Linked DNA regions of Homo sapiens: region 1 is linked to region 2. The links are contacts of gene promoters, found by promoter capture Hi-C in blood cells and fetal thymus (Javierre and others, 2016). All regions are on one chromosome and are shown on one strand. Each heading gives the region's core, a stretch centred on a gene start or on the middle of the fragment in contact. The rest is flanking DNA. Distances are from core to core; before and after follow the strand shown.

Region 1 (3,470 bases), core at 940-3,439, 1.2 Mb after region 2:
CCGGGAGCCCCCGCGTGGTGCCGCGGTGCCCCCTCATTATGCATGCATGGAAAAGCAAACAAACAAAAACATTAGCAACGCTCCTCCGGCTCGCCGAGCCCCGGCCCCGCGCGCTCCGAGCCTGCCCGCTTTCTCCTTTCTCCACTCTCTTTCGCCCTTTGCTCGGCCCCCTTTCCCGGCTTTTCGAGATGCTATTGGTCCTGCCTGTTGTTGTTGAAAGTTTTTTTTTTTTTTTTTACGAGCCGCTGGAGTGGGGTTGCGGAGTGGGGGAGGGCGGGAGGGTGGTGGGCAGCTCACATTCAGGCATTCAGGGCTTGAAAGGAACGGCTTAGGGAGCCTGACGGAGGCCCGGAGCTCCTCCTACTCTTAAGGAGGCTCGGATATGCAGCCCCAGCTCGCGCACAGAACCAGCGGGCAGGGCTTAGGGGCAGCTGTTTGCATCCGGCTCAGCCACGGGCCTTTTTTGTTTGTTTTTTTTTTCTTTTTTTTTTTTTTTGTAGTTTTATTAATTCTCGCTGGCCCCCATCTGTGCTTTCGACTGGATTCAGAACTCAGTTTATCTTCCAGGCTCCCTGTCTTTGGGTCTTGATCACCACAGAGGGGAAGGGGAGAATCCAGAGATAAAATGTGAGACTGAAACTGTTTTAAAGAAGCATACAAGAAAGAAGCACACACTTTATTAGGGAGATGTTGATGAGATGCTTACAACCCGCCCGCCACCCCCCAGCCCCAGCTAGGCCATCTGGCAGGTACCGCCCGTGCGCCAGGCATCGTTTTCAAATTGCAAGACCGAAATCCAATCAACCGAAATAATTTCTTAGGAAGATAAGCTTGCAACACGTGCAATAATGAAAAAATTTAACTAGCATTAAAAATATTCAGGAATGTCGAGCAATTACCACCTGGCCGCAGTCACAGGACAGAAGACGGAATAAATGGGCACGCACCAAAGGTTTATATTAAAGTGTAAGTTTCAGCCCCTCAGTATATTTAAGGGAGGCTGCTCTGCAGAGGAAACCTCTGCCTTCTCGGCGAGGGAGTTTCCGAGCTACCTTAACTGGGGCGCAACGCAGCCTTCCGCCACCAGAGGCAGCGGGCGTCTGCGGCCTGTCAAAAACTGGCGCTTTTTTCCTCCCCTTTCCGTGGAGAGACTATCAACTCCATCTGTCACAAAAATTAAGGCTAAATCTCCTCTCCAGAAGCAGAGGGAGCCGGGGCTCCGACGCGCTCAGCGTCGGGCTGTCTGCCTCTCCCTAGAGGCCAAGTGAATTTGAAATGGCAAAAGTCACAGCCGGAGGCCCAGCACTAGGAGATTCCTCCGGCTGCGGGAAATCTTCCTGTACCTGCTGAAGCTGCTGCGTTCCTCAGAGGCGCTTGGTCTGCCGTGGGAAGCTGCACCTCTGCAGTCCCCAAAACCAAAATCAAACCTTAAAAGAGCCAGACTGAGGTAAGGCGGACCGTCTTGCTCTGATTTGAGTATTGGTAGACAAACAGCAATATAAATCGATACTAAAAAAATCCAGAAAGGCTGCAACTTCATGGCACATCAAAACAACCATATCCCTGGCTCTCTGTCTCTTTTTTTTTCTCTATTATTTGGAGTTGTCCTCTCAGTCCGGCCTGGAGGACTTGGACAACTCAGACACCTTCTCTGTGTCTGGGATCCCTCCACAGGTAAGGTTCGAAGCCAATTAGACAATTGAAAAATCCCCTCTTGTCTTTAAAGCTTTGTTATTTTAGGCCCATAAGGAACAAAGTCAGCACTCGGTTTCATCTTTACTTGAATTTTTGTTGAGTTCCTTTAGAATAGTGGGACCCAAACCTTAGCACGTATCCTAAAACTCAGATCCCTAGTTTTTGGAGTTTCTGATTTAGTTGGACTGGTGGGTCCCAAGAATATGCATTTCTAACAAGTTCTCAGGGAATGCTGCTCTCAAACTTTGAGAATCACTGCTCTCAAAGTTAACATGTTTCTTTTCTGTGTTGTTGCTGTGTTTTTGGTAACACTTGCCCCACCTTGGCCTTGATACAGCTCTCAGTGGGGTTTAAGGGAGGCCCAAGAGCTCTGCATGCTTTGGGGACTTCTGCATCCCAGTCACATAGCATTAGCATTGCAAGCCTGAGGGGTTCTCAGCCCACTTTTTACTGTGTCATTTCCATTCACCACAATAGGCTATACTGTCTTCTATCTTAAAAAAACATAATAGTAAAACCTTCTAGACTCCACGTCCCTATTCAGTCACTATCCCATTTTCATGAAAACTTGAAAATCTTGCTTTTACTCACTTTCCCCACTCGATTCACTCTACATAATCGAGTTCCATTCGATTATGTAGAGTCGCTAGTGACCAAAACCTTGCTCTACCTGATTGTCACTTCTCAGTCCTCAGCTTATATGACGTTTCAGCAGCATTGGCCATGACTGATCACCTCCTTTTCAAAGCGCTTTCTAAAATTTTGGCTTCCGAAACTCCATACTCCCCTGTTCTCTCATTTTACTGCCTGGTGGCTCCTTCTGTCTCTCAACTCCTTAGGTAACCACATCTAGTGCCTTGATTTTAAATTGCATCTCCTAATTTGATGTTTTCAATCTCAGTCTTTCTCTGATCTCCATATGTATATATTCACTTGGTTCCAAGGACATCTCAAACTTAAGCTTCCCCAAGAGCACTTCTAAATTTCCATCCCCAAAACCTATTTGTTTACTGGGCTTACTGTGGTAGATACCCTCCAAAATTGGTCTCCATCACTTTTCTCCCTACCTTTACATCCTTACTACTCAGATCAAAAGGCAGAGTATAATCCCCTTCCCCTTGAGTCTTGGGTAGGCCTTACTGACTTTGACCAATAGGACATAGTGAAAGTGACTGACATTCTGGGGCCTCCAAGGCTAGATCACAAGAAGCCTTGCAGCTTCTACTCGGGCCTTGTATTAGTCCGTTTTCACACTGCTGATAAAGATATACCCAAGATTGGGCAATTTACAAAAGAAAGAGGTTTACTGGACTTAGGGTTCCACATGGCTGGGGAGGCCTCACAATTATGGTGGAAGGCAAGGAGGAGCAAATCACATCTTACATGGATGGCAGCAGGCAACGAGAGGGCTTGTGCAGAGAAACTCCTGTTTTTAAAACCATCATATCTCATGAGACCCATTCACTGTCATGAAAACAGCATGGGAAAGATACACCCCCATGATTCAGTCATCTCCCACTGGGTCCCTCCCACAATATGTGGGAATTATGGGAGCTACAAGATGAGATTTGGGTGGGAACACAGAGCCAAACCTTATCAGGCCTCTTGGAATACTTGCTCTGCAGAAGCCAGTCACCACGTAAGACATCTGGACCACCTTCAGACTCGCATGCTGTGAGGAAGCCCATGCTTACTATGTGTAGAGGATACATGGAGAAGGAAAGAGATGCCTGGCCAGCTCCCTGCTGTTTCAGCCATGTGAGTGAAGAAGGCAC
Region 2 (3,385 bases), core at 219-2,718:
TTTGGTTTTGACATTTGGCACATGTTTTAAAATAAGCACCATTTAAAGTTCCTTAAATAAATCATTTCTTTTTTGGCCTACTGAACTAAAAACATTCCACAATACAATTACAAAAATAACTTTCCGGTTTTCTCAGACAACCAGTTTATAAGAATAATTCAGAAGTTCACAAAGGATAATTTGATTTACATAAAGCTTAAAAAACGGACATAAAAGGTAAGTGAAAATGACCGATTAAGAAGACTGTTAAGGTCCTTTCTAACTACAAATTGTCATGCATTGTAATTAAACACAACTACAATGTTAAACACCTGAAGGAAAAAACCCACATAGAATTAATACTGCCAAAGAAAATTTCCGCTATCTTCAGGCACTTGAGTAAGCTATGTTAAAACGGGAAATGGGCTTTAAATTATCAACATTCACATCGATTACACTATGATGCATGAAAACTCCATTCTACAATGAGTAAACGCCCAAGAAAGGAACCCAACCAACTCCAATTGCCCTGGTGCTCGTAAGAGGTTTATACCGCACAAGGGGTAAAACAACGGTAGAGTCGAGCAAGCCTTTGGGTTACAACAGTCCTTGAACACTTGCAATTGAGAACCCGCAATTCAGGAAGGAAGACACTAAGGAAACTCTGCACTGTCATCCAGGGTGATCTGATTCAGGTTCAAACCAAACGCTCAAGGCGACAAGTTGTAAACAGAAGACACACTTCAGCTCAAACCACCCAGCGAGAGGAAGCAAACGTGCCCATCGCCGATGTCACAGCAAATCCCACCTTGCTGGCGCTCAGTCGGGAACGCTAGAATTCTCGAAGCACAGGGGCCCGCGATTCAGCGGCCCGCTACCACTGGGGCGGGGGAGAGCGGGGCTGGGCGCGCCCGCCCCCGGCCCTGCAGCCCCTCGGCTGGACTCCCCGCGGCGCCGCGAGCTCGGGCCCGAGAGAAAGGGCTGAGCAGAAAGGGCGGCCTCCGCCCAGAGACCGCGCCCGATACCCTCCGCAAGGTCTGGGACGGGGATCCACCGAGGGTCCGGGGACTGGGGAAGGCGTTTTCCAGACCCAGTCAAAGCCCCACCCCGTCAGGGCTTTCCCTCAAGACCGAGTGCGTTCCCCTCACGCGTCACATGTGTAACATGCGTTACACAACCCGTCAGGTAAGGGGCGCAGGGATCCGGGGTCGCCCCTCCTACCCCCGGGCGCCGTCGCTCGCATCTCCCGCGGCCCGGGGAGAGCAGAGGGACGGCCGGCCGGGACATGAGGACTGCAGCAGGGCGCTCACCGGCTCAGGATGGGGCGCTGGCGGGGACCGCGCAGAGCCGCAGCACCCGGCTCAGCACCTGGATCACGGCGGATCCCTCGCCGCCCGCCGCCCGGTGTTTTCATACAAACCCCGGTGGCAGGCGAGGCGGAGGCGGCGGCGGCGGCAGCTGCGGCGGCGGCGCTGGAGGCGGCGGAACCTGTCCGCATCCCGGGCAACGTCAGCGCGGCGCCCCGCCCACCGCACGCCTTGCCAGCCGGCTCCCAGCACGCGCAGGGAGTGGGGGCGGGGCGTGCGAGGCCGCGAAAGGGGCGGGGCGGAGCGCACGCCCTCTTCCCGCCGCGTCCCTTGTTACCTCCGTGCGCGCTGCGCCCCGCCTCTCTGCGCGCCTGACGGGAGGGAGCGCGCGCGTGGGGGCGGAGCGCGCACGGGAGCGGGAATTAGGGGCGGGTGTTCCGCGCGCTGCCGGTCCCTTGTACCCAGCAGCCCCGGCCACCGCCCCTCCGTACCGAACTGCGAGCGACTCCCCACGTTCTTCAAGTCATCTTTCTGTACACTCCCAACGAGGGCCCCAGCCTTTTCCCGGAACTAAGCCCGCGCCCACCCCCTCCCCCGCCATCAATCAGTCACTTTCTTAGGAAGGGTTCTTAAAGCTCCCCACGTGATCCCGGGGTCGCATCAAACGCTGGGGACTGCGGTAAAGCTTAGACCTTTCCTGACCTCAAGGAGGGTCCATAATAAGAGGCTGGAAGGGACATGCTGTTACTACAATCGGGCTCCCAGAAAACAACAGGATTGCACCTTGTGGCCAAATCTCAGTAAATTAGATGCCTAGTGCTGCAGCGAACAAAATAGCATGCTGATTTACTGTTTTTTGAAAAAGTGCCTGCATATAATCAAAACGGTAATGCTAAGTTGGCTACTGAAGGCAAAGGCGGAATGTTTTATCTGAGCCAAAGTAATGTGTCAGAGAAATTACTAATACACCCCCTTCTGTTTTGACTGTACTTCAGTGTACTGCAATGTATTGCAAATAAATACTGACATCATTTACTTTTTCACGTTGCACAAGAACATGTTTGCTACTGTTTATGGTAAGGAATGTAATATCACAACTAGATAAGGGAATGCATTGAGAACTGTGAGATTTTTGTTTTGTTTTATGATCTTGTTCAAATAAAATTAAGCAGGTGTGAAAGCAATTCAAAAAGTAACCCAAGGTACACCACAGTGCTTCTTACAGTTTGCCCTTGGTAGATGTCTTTATTCAGATGAACAAGAAACTGCCATTTTATAAACATCGTAGTTTCCCTCATCGTGAGCACTAAAAGATAGGTTACGGTATTTAAAATAATTTTGAAACAACCACCACCCCAAACCACCCAATCAGAAACGTATTATCTGAAAATACCCAATAATAATGTAATAATTTTACAATAATGCTAAATATGTATGTAATATACCTGAAACTTTTCTTAAAGAACATGTTTCTAAATGAGTCAACCTGCAATATAGGAAGATATTATGTGGATGTGTGTGTTTGTGGAATTTGAATCCCACTTTCACAAGCACTGTTAGCATAGTTTGATGACCACAACACAGACCCAGGAGATTAACCCACACAAGATAAATAGCAGCATTACATAGCTTTGAAATGATTCCAATCACATAGTTTGCCACAAGAGTGAGTGATTTATGTTTTGCGGTAATTAAGAACTTAGAGCTACTCCCCCACCCCCTGGGAATGTGACATCACTCTTCATCAGATCCCACGTGTATGAAGTTGAAATAAACTTCACCTCTCCTAGCTAATGTGACGTTACACCTTATCAAACACCATATATATGTTACTGACCTCAACTACAGGATTTCGAAATACATATAAACTCAAGAATTTGCAAGATACTTTGAGAGCTCAGCGGGTGGCAGATCGCGTGCTCTGTCAGCCACTTCCCTGAACGCTACCAGCTCAGGCTGCAACAGGGCCACACCCTGTTAGCCTTTAAGCTTTGAAGCCTGTCCACCAACACTGGCACAGCCCTCTAGCATCGTGGGACCTTGCATATCCTCACCGATCTCCTGTATGTTGGACACCATCTCTCCCGAGAACCTCAGCC

Evidence for each region. Contacts are between HindIII fragments. The CHiCAGO score rates a contact against its expected background, and 5 or more counts as called.
Region 1: a fragment that was not itself captured here is called in contact with the fragment with the promoter of AGTPBP1 in region 2 in 4 of 17 cell types (fetal thymus, total CD8 T cells, naive CD8 T cells and 1 more); the score reaches 12.9 in fetal thymus.

Annotation. Positions count from the first base shown.
Region 1 is chr9:86,947,547-86,951,016 of GRCh38, forward strand. It overlaps GAS1RR (GAS1 adjacent regulatory RNA), which reads left to right and starts at 1,152. Exons shown (of 7, transcript NR_049794.1): 1 at 1,152-1,447; 2 at 3,321-3,453. The HindIII fragment of the contact is 930 bases long and covers 1,725-2,654 here.
Region 2 is chr9:85,740,486-85,743,870 of GRCh38, forward strand. It overlaps AGTPBP1 (ATP/GTP binding carboxypeptidase 1), which reads right to left and starts at 1,469. Exons shown (of 26, transcript NM_001330701.2): 1 at 1,290-1,469. RefSeq lists an enhancer at 483-632 and silencers at 803-1,122, 1,193-1,792. The HindIII fragment of the contact is 1,776 bases long and covers 194-1,969 here.